Regions from separate parts of the Homo sapiens genome. Here region 1 is linked to region 2. Evidence: promoter capture Hi-C in 16 types of primary human blood cells and fetal thymus (Javierre and others, 2016). All regions are on one chromosome and are shown on one strand. Each heading gives the region's core, a stretch centred on a gene start or on the middle of the fragment in contact. The rest is flanking DNA. Distances are from core to core; before and after follow the strand shown. Region 1 has its middle 30 kb from the start of C16orf54. Region 2 holds the start of MAZ (MYC associated zinc finger protein).

The links. Contacts are between HindIII fragments. The CHiCAGO score rates a contact against its expected background, and 5 or more counts as called.
Region 1: a contact is called between a fragment that was not itself captured here and the fragment with the promoter of MAZ in region 2, in 2 of 17 cell types (total CD8 T cells and M0 macrophages). The highest score is 5.9, in total CD8 T cells.

Annotation. Positions count from the first base shown.
Region 1 is chr16:29,712,353-29,718,717 of GRCh38, forward strand. No RefSeq gene overlaps it. Among named protein-coding and RNA genes, the nearest start is that of C16orf54, 30 kb to the right of the region's middle. RefSeq lists an enhancer at 1-287. The HindIII fragment of the contact is 670 bases long and covers 4,647-5,316 here.
Region 2 is chr16:29,803,755-29,810,743 of GRCh38, forward strand. It overlaps MAZ (MYC associated zinc finger protein), which reads left to right and starts at 2,775. Exons shown (of 5, transcript NM_002383.4): 1 at 2,775-3,139; 2 at 3,224-4,074; 3 at 4,476-4,539; 4 at 4,816-4,987; 5 at 6,323-6,989. The coding sequence starts at 2,948. The coding sequence ends at 6,477. KIF22 (kinesin family member 22) reads left to right here. Exons shown (of 14, transcript NM_007317.3): 11 at 244-311; 12 at 1,060-1,272; 13 at 1,361-1,420; 14 at 1,509-1,630. The coding sequence ends at 1,556. MVP-DT (MVP divergent transcript) reads right to left here. Exons shown (of 4, transcript NR_186424.1): 3 at 6,281-6,419; 4 at 4,890-5,379. RefSeq lists silencers at 1,276-1,325, 2,066-2,405, 2,536-2,675, 3,576-4,245 and enhancers at 1,706-1,755, 4,326-4,565. The HindIII fragment of the contact is 3,714 bases long and covers 567-4,280 here.

The DNA.
Region 1 (6,365 bases), core at 3,732-6,231, 89 kb before region 2:
GCAGAAGAAAATTTTGGAGATAAGCAATAGGTCTCCTATAGTAGGCCAAAAGGGAAAAGAAAAAATAGGGAAGGCAAAGAAATAGGGGAAACAATATTTCCAATAGGAAAAGAGGCAATACCTCTTGGCAACCCTATTTGTCACTCCTTTCTATGGTGTTTTTCCTTCTTTCACGGTTTAAAATGGCTTCTATCTCTTTTATAATGTTCTTCCAACCTGGGAAAAGTTATTTTTCCAAACGTTAAAATGCTTGGCTTAGAGTTGAGCTAGGGGGAAGGGAACACAGAAGCCTGGTATGCTGGCAAAAGGGTAAACATTTCTTACCAGATGGGCTTTTGGCTTCTCCCTGTGCAAACCGGTAAAAGGGATAATAAGGATCATTGTTTATATTCTCTGTAAATTTCTAATTCATAAAAAAGGATTTGTGAGGTTGGTCTTAAGCTGTAAACAATCTGGTGTGCTTTGCATGTCTTTCCCTAAGAAAGGGTATCTTAGGTTAGGATGCAGGCCTAGGACCCCATAAGCCTGGTGTTTGAGCGAGCCCAACAAAATCGTCACTAACAAAATTGGCTATAAGCCTTCATCTTGTTTCATGTCCTTGGAAACATGACCTGTAACCACGTGGCAATACTTTGTTTGAGTCTCCACCATTTCATAATGGTGGCTGTCTTCTGGTGCTAAGTCAGTTTCTGGGTGAGGGCCACAAAATCAGATTAAGTCGGTTTGTCAATCTGGGTGGTGCCAGCTGATCCATCAAGGGCAGGGTTTACAAAATATCTTAAACACTCATTTTAAGAGTAGTTTAGGGAGTGTCAAAATCTTGTAGCCTCCAGATGCATAGCTCCTAAGCCATAGTTTCCAATATATATATATAATTTTATATTATATATATACATAATTTTATATTATATATATTAATATATAATATATATAATTATATATGTTAATATATTTAATATATAATTATATAAAATATATAATATATAATTATATATGTTAATATATTTAATATATAATTATATAAAATATATTAATATATATAATTATATAGTTAATATATTTAATATATAATTATATAAAATATATAATTATATATAATTATATAAAATATATAAATATATATAATTATATAAAATATATAATTATATATAATTATATAAAATATATAATTATATATAATTATATAAAATATATAATTATATATAATTATATAAAATATATAAATATATATAATTATATAAAATATATAAATATATAATTATATAAAATATATAAATATATAATTATATAAAATATATAAATATATAATTATATAAAATATATAAATATATAATTATATAAAATATATAAATATATATAATTATATATAATTATATAAAATATATAAATATATATAATTATATAAAATATATAAATATATATATATATATATTTTTTTTTTGAGATGGAGTCTTGCACTGTTGCCCAGGGTGGAGTGCAGTGGCGCAATCTCAGCTTGCTGCAACCTCCACCTCCCAGGTTCAAGTGATTCTCTTTGCCTCAGCCTCACAAGTAGCTGGGATTACAGGCGTGTACCACTACACCTGGCTAACTTTTGTATTTTCAGTAAAGACAGGGTTTCACTATGTTGACCAGGCTGGTTTCGAACTCCTGACCTCGTGATTCGCCCACCTTGGCCTCCCAAAGTGCTGGGATTACAGGCGTGAGCCACCACGCCCAGCCTGGTTTTTAATCTTATGGCTAGTTTCTTGGTCTGGTCCCCAGACAAGAGGGAAGTATATCTTAAGAAGGGGCTGATATCATCTTTGTTTTAAACTATCTATAGTTTAATAACTATAAACTATCTATAGTTTAATAACTATAAACTATAGCTTAATAACTATAAACTATAGTTTAATAACTATAAACTATAGTTTAATAACTATAAACTAGTTTAATAACTATAAACTATAGTTTAATAACTATAAACTATCTATAGTTTAATAACTATAAACTATCTATAGTTTAATAACTATAAACTATCTATAGTTTAATAACTATAAACTATAGTTTAATAACTGTAGTTTTAAACTATCTATAGTTTAATAACTATAAACTGTCTATAGTTTAATAACTGTAAACTCGCCCCTCCCAAAGTTGGTCCAGCCTACACCCAGGGATGGGCAAGGACAGCTTGGGGGCTGGAAACAAAATGGAGTTGTTTGGGTCGGATCTCTTCTCTTTCACTGTCTCAGTCTCAGTTTTGCAATGACAGTTTCAAAAGCTGCCTATTACTCCTTTGAAAATACCTTGTACACTTGTGGATAAGTCATAACCTAATTAAGGCTCATTGGGTTCACCTGTGAGGTTACTTTTTGTAAAACTCAAAAGCCAAAAATCTTAACTGCTTGGCATGGCTAAAGTCAAGTAACAAGGGATTTTGAAGGCTTTTCTTAGAGCACTCAGCTTAATTAAAAGTGGATATTCAAGTTATAGGTATACTTAAAAGGCCTTTATGTTTTTCTCTTCTTGAATCTTGTTTTCTGGAAAAAGGCTCTTCTCAGTCAACTGAATTATTTTTCTCCATTTTTGTCTTAACCACTCTTAATGCATGCATGAGAGTCCCTAAGACAACTTCTGACAGCATGGAACTCCTTGGGAAAAACAGAGGAGGTGCCACAAACCCTGTTTTGGAAAAAAAACCTGTTTTCCTCATGAAACCCCCAAAATTAAAAGCTGATAGTTCCCTCTCAAAACCAAAGGCTCTGTTCTGTTATGTATTGTGTTATCTACCGTTTTGAGTTTTGGGGGTATCAAATTACTTCACATTATAAAAGAGCTTTGATGTGTAATAACTAGGTAGAAAATACACTGTAAAGGATGCCTAATAGTAGTTATAAATCAAAAAAGCATGCTCTTGGGCACCTAAAAAACATCCCCACCCCCCACAAAGAGATGAGACTACCATGCAGAATGGGCTAATTGCCAAAATAAGCCAATTGGCTTTGGGTTGCCTTGCAATGAAATGCATGGTAGAAACACTACACTGTCTTCTCTCATAGTATCTATATGGTCTTTTCATAAATTGAGCATTGAAATAAAAGCATAGCAAGGAGTTCCTAAAACACTAATCTGTCCTTTGGTAAAAAGGTTATAAAAGATTTGTAAAGATTTAACTGTAACTGTCCTGGAAATTTTGTCATTCGCAAACAATTGTTGTCTTGCTTCGTTCCTTCTCAGAAAATGGTTTATAATCAAGCTATATTAAGGACTTTAACAGGTGTTCTCAAATGCAGGTTTTTAATAGCTTTGAAGATTGTAACATTGGAATAAAAAAGTACAGGACTCATAAAGAATGGACATATTCACAAATATCAAGCAAAACAAAAGTTAACTAAATGGACTGCACTCAAAAAGTTAAAGCAGCTTTTTTTTTTTTTTTTGTGATAGAGTCTCACTCTGTCACCCAGGCTGGAGTGCAATGGTGCAATCTTGGCTCACTGCAACCTCCGCCTCCCTGGTTCAAGGGATTCTCCTGCCTCAGCCTGGGATTACAGGCGCCCACCACTGCGCTTGACAAATTTTTGTATTTTTAGTAGAGACAGGGTCTCAAACTCCTGACCTCATGATCCACACGCCTCAGCCTCCCAAAGTGCTGGGATTACAGGTGTGAGCTGCCGCACCTGGCCAAAGCAACCTTTTTAACTTTTGCTTGGAATATTGCAAATACGCATGAGAGTCCCTAAGATAACTTAAGGATCCTTGTTTTGTCTTTCAGAGTCAAGAAAACTTATTTTGAACTATTTACAGCCTTTAATAATTAAGTAAGGTGCCGGGCACCGTGGCTCATGCCTGCAAACCCAGTACTTTAGGAGGCTAAGGAGGGTGGATCACCTGAGGTTGGGAGTTTAAGACCAGCCTGACCAACTTGGAGAAACCCCATCTCTACTAAAAATACAAAATTAGCTGGGTGTGGTGGTGCATGCCTGTAATCCCAGATACTCGGGAAGCTAAGGCAGGAGAATTGCTTGAACCCAGGAGGTGGAGGTTGCAGAGCCAAGATCACACCATTGCACTCCAGCCTGGCAACAAGAGCGAAACTCTGTCTCAAAATAAAATAAAATAAATAATTGCGTAAGGTATATGCCTGTGAACAAAATTTGGAGCATGTTTGTTTTTCTCTGCCTGGTTCCTCTAGAACGTGGAGACTATCTGTGAGTACTCTTAACTTATGGCAGTAAGGTTGTTTGCATCAGTGCAATAAGAGTCAATTTTCTGGCCGGGTGCCGTGGCTCACGCCTGTAATCCTAGCACTTTGGGAGGCCGAGGTGGGCAGATCACAAGGTCAGGAGATCGAGACCATCCTGGTTAACACGGTGAAACCCCGTCTCTACTAAAAATACAAAAAAATTAGCCAGGTGTGGTGGCGGTGCCTGTAGTCCCAGCTACTCAGGAGGCTGAGGCAGGAGAATGGCGTGAACCCGGGAGGCGGAGCTTGCAGTGAGCCGAGATCGTGCCACTGCACTCCAGCCTAGGCAACAGAGCAAGACTCCGTCTCAAAAAAAAAAAAAAAAGAGTCAATTTTCTTTGTCAACAGGACACAGTTGGAAAAACTGGTTATTTTACCAAGGTTTCACTGAAAGGGTGTGTTTCCCTTTAAGGAATCAAGCTTGACATGCAGACCCAATAAAAACCCCTTGGAGAGAACTGGCCTCATAGTTAGTCTACACAGTCCCCACACAGGGTTCCTAACCTATGGTCAGTAAAGAGTGTCACTTTCTAACAGGCCTGGGAGCTCCAAGTTTATCTTGGAACCTTAAGAGGAGAGGATCACCCAACTCACAGGTATTTGAGGATACAAACCCATAGTTGGGCTCGGCTTTAAAGGTCTTATCTGAAATTCCTTGTGCAACAAAGTTTCATCAAAGCCAATTCAAAAGGCCTGTGTAGAAATAACCATTCCTGGCCGGGCACGGTGGCTCATGCCTGTAATCGCAGCACTTTGGGAAGCCAAGCTGGGCAGGTGGATCACCTGAGGTTGGGAGTTCGAGACCAGCCTGACCAATATGGAGAAATCCTGGACTCTTCTAAAAATACAAAATTAGCTGAGCGTGGCAGTGCATGTCTGTGACCCCAGCTACTCGGGAGGCTGAGGCAAGAGAACAGCTTGAACCTGGGAGGCAGAGGTTGCGGTGAGCCAAGATTGCCCTGTTGCACTCCAGCCTGGGCAAATCATCAGGCCAAGTATAAAACTAAAGTTTATTCTACAAACAACACACATGGTCCTATCATAATTTGTTTTTACCAAAAATGAGACCTGGAGAAATTGTGTCCCAAAGCTTATCATACATTTGTCATTAAATCCTAGTCTCATTAATTGTTTTTAAGCTTTTTGCCTACATTTTAGACTAACCCTGTTTATTCCTGTAAATCAAGTGGTGATCTGCAGCTTGGAAGAAAAAAAAAGGAATGGAGAATGTAAAAATCTGAATCAATATACTGGTTCTGGGCAATTATCCTATAAATTCTGCCAGGTAATAAAAGTGAGTAGGGGCCAGGCGCGGTGGCTCACCCCTGTAATCCCAGCACTTTGGGAGGCCGAGGTGGGTGGATGACCTGAGGTAGGAGTTTCAGACCAGCCTGGGCAACATGGTGAAACCCCATCTCTACTAAACATACAAAAAAATTATCTGGGCATGGTGGTGTGTGCCTATAATCCCAGCTACTAGGAAGGCTGAGGCAGGAGGATAGCTTAAACACAGGAGGTGGAGGTTGCAGTGAGCCGAGATCGCGCTATTGCCCTCCAGCCTGGGTGAGAAGGCGAGACTCCGTCTTTAAAAAAAAAAAAAAAGAAAAGCAGGGCGCGGTGGCTCACGCCTGTAATCCCAGCACTTTGGGAGGCCAAGGCGGGTGGATCACGAGGTCAGGAGATCGAGACCATCCTGGCTAACATGGTGAAACCCTGTCTCTACTAAAAATACAAAAAAATTAGCTGGGCGTGGTGGCGGGCACCTGTAGTCCCAGCTACTTGGGAGGCTGAGGCAGGAGAATGGCGTGAACCCAGGAGGTGGAGCTTGCAGTGAGCTGAGATCGCGCCACGGCACTCCAGCCTGGGCGAAAGAGCAAGACTCCGTCTCAAAAAAAAAAAAAAGTGAGTAGGGTGCCCATAGCTTGGAGATTTCTTTGTTTGGGAAAATAAAACAAAAGAACTTCATAAACCCCCAAAGGGAAATTCTATATCTTGGCAAGTAAAATTTTAAGTGGAAATTATCTACTACACCACACTTGTGGGAATTGCTGTACTCACCCCACTATTTTCAATAGGGTTATACACGGTAGCACCTTAAAGCTGAAATATTGGACAGAGTTTCCATTGCCGTAGTATT
Region 2 (6,989 bases), core at 1,525-4,024:
GGGGGTGCTCTGCCCTCGGGTGTTTAGGACAGTGGGATGGACAAACGAGTAGAGGATTGAAGATAATGCAAGACTGACTGAAATTCCTTTAAATGCGGGTATAAAAAAGGTCATGTGGAAACACAACAGGTTAACTCTGGATGGAGGGGAGCTGGGGAATCAGAAATGGAAGAATCGAAGGGCTACCAGGGAGGGTGAAAAGTACCCTTTGCCCTGACTCCAATTCTCGATTCCTACTTTCAGTTCAGGAGCAGGCAGCATCCCCAAATGCCGAGATCCACATCCTGAAGAATAAAGGCCGGAAGAGAAAGGTGAAAGTAGCTGGGGGCTTAGGCTACACCTGGAGCCCAGAAGTAAGGGGGAGTAGGCTCTAGGGGGAGGAGCGTTGGCCTTGGGGTTAAACGAACTGGATGATGGCCGCCAGCTACTAACAGACCTCAACTTGCTTACCCCTGGAATGTGGTGATGGATGGTTCCTTGCAGGGCATTTAGGGTGGAAGGCAGTGATGTGGATGTACCTCGCAGAGCGGATGTTCCACTGTGTAGCCTGGCTTCTACCCTCTACAAGCTTAAGAGGGAAAACTTAGGGAACTATGACCTAAGCAGTCAAGCAAGAAACCACACATATGCACATACCCAGAATCGAACACCACTAGAACTACCCAAAAACTGAGATGGTTGGGGGAGGTATCATTTATTCATATTACTTTCTCCCATGTACTTTTTGAAAGACAGCTTATTCTTTCCCTTTTAGAGATGAGGGACCAGATTTAAGAGCTTATTTTGTGCTTTACATTCATTAACTCACTTGATCTCCACAGCAACTCCATGAGAAGGGTGCTAATATTACCACTGGGTACTGAGTAGTACCTCTCTTTCACTAGTTGCATAATAAGAATTAACCCAGAGAGTGACCTGAGGGCGGGATTTTGGACACACTTGACAAGAGAGGAAGAGGCTGGAGCGCAGGAGGTAGCTGGTGCTGGGCTCCTAGTCTTGGCAGAGGAGCCCAAAGCACTTGGCTGCCCTGCGTGTCACTCATCTCCCTTTGCCTCCCAGCTGGAGTCCCTGGATGCCCTAGAGCCTGAGGAGAAGGCTGAGGACTGCTGGGAGCTACAGATCAGCCCGGAGCTACTGGCTCATGGGCGCCAAAAAATACTGGATCTGCTGAACGAAGGCTCAGCCCGAGATCTCCGCAGTCTTCAGCGCATTGGCCCGAAGAAGGCCCAGCTAATCGTGGGCTGGCGGGAGCTCCACGGCCCCTTCAGCCAGGTAGCAGCCCACTGGACTGGGGGAGGGCGGGGGCGGGGGAGACCGGGTACCCCCGAGACCCTGTCCCCTATCGATCCTGTCCCGCCAGGTGGAGGACCTGGAACGCGTGGAGGGCATAACGGGGAAACAGATGGAGTCCTTCCTGAAGGTGAAGTCACGGCCCTGCCCCTCCTCTGCCTGTCCTGCGCCCCGCGCCCCTCTCTAACGTCGCTGTCTCCCTCCCTCCTGTGTTGCAGGCAAACATCCTGGGTCTCGCCGCCGGCCAGCGCTGTGGCGCCTCCTGACCGTCGTCTCCTCACTCCGCCTTTTCAAATTTTTGTATAACCCCGTGTTGTGTAAATACAGTTTTTGCTCCGGTGCTTCCGCCTGATTTTTGGGGCTGCGGGGGCGGGACCGGGGTGTGACCGCCTCGGGGTGGGCCGCGAGCAAGGCAGGCGACTCCACTGGGCGCCATCTTCGGGGAACGACTCAGCGCAGGATTGTAAATACACCGCTGGGGTGGGGCGGGGAGGACGGTGGCCTGCAGGACGCAAAAAGCGGAAGCCGAAGCATGAGGCCTGCGACCGTTAGGCGGGCGCGCGCTCAGGGATTAGCCCCGCCCCGTCCGTGCCCCCGGCGCGCGCGCTCCCCCATTCTCCCGCTCGGCAACGACGGCGGCCTTGTGCGCGTGCGCGCGAAATAACGGCCGCTGGCGGAGGGAGGGGGAGTGGAATCGTTGGCGGGGGGAAGAGGAGAGAAGCCGCCCTGTCTCCCGCGCGCCCACCACCTGCGCCATCGTCAGCCAATCAGCAGCCGTCTCAGGGGTCTCGCGCTCGGGGCGACTCGGGCTGCTGGGTGGCTCCCCCGTCCCTCCTCCCGCCAGAGTCCCTCTCGCGCCTGCCCCTCCCGCTGGCCACGCGCGCGCTCGCGCTAGCGCTCGCGCCCGCTCCAGCCTCTTGTGTGTCCTCGCGCCCCCCGCCCGCCCTCCCCGCGCGTAGTGTGCTCCGCTTCCCCCACCCTCCACCTCCCCCCTCCTGCCCGCCCCGCGCGCCTCCTCCCGGGTTCCCCCTCCCCCACCGCCGCCGCCTCCTCCTCCCGCCCCAGGGTGAGCGCGAGCCACCTCCCTCCCTCCCTCCGCCATGGATCCCAGCAACTGGAGCAGCTTCATCTTCCAGGTAACAACTCCCTCCCCCCGCCCCCACCCCCCTGCCCACACCCCCTCCTGCCCGCCCTCCCTCCCGTCCCACCCCCCCTCCGCGCGCCCGGTGCGCGCGCAGCTGTCCCCCTCCCTCCCTCGCGCCCTCCCCCGCCCTCCCCGAGGCGCCGGCTGGGCGCGCGCGCGGCGGGGGCCGAGGCTGCTCCCTCGCTCCCCCCACCCCGCCCCGCCAGGCTCCAACCGCCGCCGCCGCCGCCGCCGCCGCCCGGGCCCCCGCCCCCGGCCCCGGCCCCGCGGGGCCTCCCGCCCCCACCCAGGGGGCGTCGCCGCCGCCGTCGCCGCGGCGCTCCGCGGCCCGCAAGGCGCCCTCTTTTCCTCCCTCCCGCCGGCCGGGGTGCGCGGGCGGCGGGGCGGCCCGCGGGCCATGCGTTCGGCGCGGCCCAGCCCGGCCGGCCGGGGGCGGCGCCCCGAGCCCGGGCCCCGCGCGGCCCGCGCCCCCGGCCCCCGCTGAGCCCCGGGGGCCCCGCTGCGGCCGAGGCCATGTTCCCGGTGTTTCCTTGCACGCTGCTGGCCCCCCCCTTCCCCGTGCTGGGCCTGGACTCCCGGGGGGTGGGCGGCCTCATGAACTCCTTCCCGCCACCTCAGGGTCACGCCCAGAACCCCCTGCAGGTCGGGGCTGAGCTCCAGTCCCGCTTCTTTGCCTCCCAGGGCTGCGCCCAGAGTCCATTCCAGGTGAGTAGGGCCGGCCGCGGCGGCCCGGGCTGGGGGGGGACGCCCGCCCGCACCCGCGGCCCACTCGGCGCCTTGTCTCCGCAGGCCGCGCCGGCGCCCCCGCCCACGCCCCAGGCCCCGGCGGCCGAGCCCCTCCAGGTGGACTTGCTCCCGGTGCTCGCCGCCGCCCAGGAGTCCGCCGCGGCTGCTGCGGCCGCTGCCGCCGCTGCTGCCGCCGTCGCTGCCGCGCCCCCGGCCCCTGCCGCCGCCTCTACGGTGGACACAGCGGCCCTGAAGCAGCCTCCGGCGCCCCCTCCGCCACCCCCGCCAGTGTCGGCGCCCGCGGCCGAGGCCGCGCCCCCCGCCTCCGCCGCCACTATCGCCGCGGCGGCGGCCACCGCCGTCGTAGCCCCAACCTCGACGGTCGCCGTGGCCCCGGTCGCGTCTGCCTTGGAGAAGAAGACAAAGAGCAAGGGGCCCTACATCTGCGCTCTGTGCGCCAAGGAGTTCAAGAACGGCTACAATCTCCGGAGGCACGAAGCCATCCACACGGGAGCCAAGGCCGGCCGGGTCCCCTCGGGTGCTATGAAGATGCCGACCATGGTGCCCCTGAGCCTCCTGAGCGTGCCCCAGCTGAGCGGAGCCGGCGGGGGAGGGGGAGAGGCGGGTGCCGGCGGCGGCGCTGCCGCAGTGGCCGCCGGTGGCGTGGTGACCACGACCGCCTCGGGGAAGCGCATCCGGAAGAACCATGCCTGCGAGATGTGTGGCAAGGCCTTCCGCGACGTCTACCACCTGAACCGACACAAGCTGTCGCACTCGGACGAGAAGCCCTACCAGTGCCCGGTGTGCCAGCAGCGCTTCAAGCGCAAGGACCGCATGAGCTACCACGTGCGCTCACATGACGGCGCTGTGCACAAGCCCTACAACTGCTCCCACTGTGGCAAGAGCTTCTCCCGGTGTGCACGGGGCCTCGGCCGCCCGCTAGGCCGTGGGGAGGGAGGGACGCGACGGAGGTGGCCTGGCCGTGGCTGGCGGGGAGGGAGGCGGCTGCTGAGGCTGGGGAAGGGGAGCCACTCCCAGGGCGGAGGGAGGAAGCCTCTCCCGGTTACCAGGGAGCAAGGGGTGGTCCTTTGTCGAGGAGGTGGGCCTTGGGGTTGACGGAAGCTTCGCGTGGGAGGAGGCGGCGGCGGCGGCAGCGGCTGCTGGGCTCCAGGGGAGGGATTTCCTGCTTAAGTGTCGCTGTGACGGCCTGGGCTCCGGGAGGAGGCGCAGGGATCCTCGGAAAGGCCTGTGGTGCGGTTTGGTGGATTTGGGGCGCACCACCTCCGCCCTAACCCCAACCCCAACGTGTCCCCAGGCCGGATCACCTCAACAGTCACGTCAGACAAGTGCACTCAACAGAACGGCCCTTCAAATGTGAGGTAGGAAGCCCGCCTCCTCCTGTCTTGGTTTTCATGATTTTGATCCTCATGGTAGCTGTCTGAGTCAGTCTCTCAGACCCCCTTTTTCTCTCTCTTCTTTTTGCCTTTTTGCTCCATTTTCTCATCCCTTCTTCAAGGCCTCATCATGTCACTCCCATTTCCTACAGATCAAAGATCCCCAAGGCTCTGATTCCTTTAATCTCTTGCTCCCCCCTCCCCAGCCCACCAAGCTTTAACTCTCCTGTGACACCCCCCACGCCCCTCCCCCCTCCTCAGAAATGTGAGGCAGCTTTCGCCACGAAGGATCGGCTGCGGGCGCACACAGTACGACACGAGGAGAAAGTGCCATGTCACGTGTGTGGCAAGATGCTGAGCTCGGCTTATATTTCGGACCACATGAAGGTGCACAGCCAGGGTCCTCACCATGTCTGTGAGCTCTGCAACAAAGGTACATGCCGAGGGCTGCCGGGAGGGCCAGGGGCAGAGGGTGGGCGCCTGGCCAGACGCCTTGCCACGGATACGGGTTAAGGGTGCTGTAGCCAAGAGCTCGTGGCGTCTAGATTCCTACAAGAGGTCAAGGGAGCAGCGGGGGGACACCTGAATGAACATCATTAGACTCTAAGAAGTCCTGGTTGGAAGAGATGATCTGCCAGAGAGGTTGAACCTCCTGGTAATGTGTGGGGAAAGCGGGAGTGGAACTTGGCTGCTCTGGGGAAGGAGTAGTCAAGAAAGCCAGTTCCAGGGGTCACAAGGCAAGGTTTCCGCTGCGCAGCCACAAGGTCTTGTCTCCAGCTCCTGGGGCAGGTGGAGTACACGGGCCGGGCTTTACCAGCACGCACCCTGCACGGGTAGCAGAGAAAGCTGCCTTCAGTCAGACTCACCGGTTAACTGGGTTGAGACCGCGGGGCACTGGAGGGAAGGGGACACAGCCGTCTCTGCTGAGGGTCAACCCTGCAAGTGGCTAGGAGTCAGTGTCTCGTCATCCTGGGAGAGGTCTCCCGGCCATGGAGAATGAGTTCTGTAGGTACCAAGGCTGAGAAGCGGGCACCACACAAGCCAGGCCCCAGGCTCAGGGAGGGGCTGTGTCTACCAGCCCCAACAGAGCAGTTGGCCCCAGGCTACCAAGGATACCGTGGGAGGAGGACAGGGCCATCTGAGGAGGGCATCCCCCGCCTAGGAGATCAGCCCCGTCTCTGGGGTCTCCGCCTGGCTGACCCCCGCCCCATCCCAATCCACCCCCCAATAGGCTTCACCACGGCAGCATACCTGCGCATCCACGCGGTGAAGGACCACGGGCTCCAGGCCCCGCGGGCTGACCGCATCCTGTGCAAGCTGTGCAGCGTGCACTGCAAGACCCCTGCCCAGCTGGCCGGCCACATGCAGACCCATCTGGGGGGGGCCGCCCCCCCTGTCCCGGGAGACGCCCCCCAGCCACAGCCCACCTGCTGAGGGGGACCCCCGCACCCACCAGGCAAGGCGTGGGGCATGGCTGGGGGGCGGGATGGGGGGTGTGGGGGACAACGGGGCTCAAAGGGCCCAATAGGGGATCTCAGGAAGGCGAGGGATGCCCATGTACCACTCAGGCTAGGGAGACTTCTGGGCACAGGGAGGATCCTTGAGAACTGCTCTGTCTGGGTGAGGATGCAGGCTGAGGCCTCTGGGGTCCAGATAGGAAGTGAGCAACGGCTGTGTCCCAGGGGAAGCAGGCTGGGAAGGTGTGGGGTGAGGGCAAGGCTCTTGCCATTCAGATCGCGCTGTGATCCGTGGTGTTTCTCCTGTGCAGGTACTGGTGAGGTTTGTCCAATGGCGGCGGCAGCGGCAGCGGCGGCAGCGGCAGCAGCGGCAGCAGTAGCAGCCCCTCCCACAGCTGTGGGCTCCCTCTCGGGGGCGGAGGGGGTGCCTGTGAGCTCTCAGCCACTTCCCTCCCAACCCTGGTGAGCTCCAAGTTGGTTGCGGGGGAGAGGGGAGAATGGAGTAGAGTCCCTTGGTACAAGCTCCTCTCCCCCCTCTTTTCCCACCAACTCCTATTTCCCTACCAACCAAGGAGCCTCCAGAAGGAAAGGAGGAAGAAATGTTTTCTTAGGGGAATTCGCTAGGTTTTAACGATTTGTTTCTCCTGCTCCTCTTCTGTCAGACCTGACCCCACACAAACCTGTCCCCTCGGTTGTGTTGAAGTCCCCTGGACAGTGGGCAGGGGTGGCAGAGGACACGAGCAGCCACTGCCCGTACCCCCTCTCCTCTCTGTAAGCCCATGCCCTGTCTTCCCAGGGACTTGTGAGCCTCTTCCCTCGACGGTCCTCTTCTCTCCTTCCAGTCCTCTCCCCCTGCTGTCTGCAGCCCCTCCCCGGGGAGTTGGTGCTTTCTTTTCCTTTTTTTTTTTTTTCCAGGGGGAGGGAGGAGAGGAAGGAGGGGGATCAGAGCTGTCCCAAAGAGGGAAAGCGGTGAGGTTT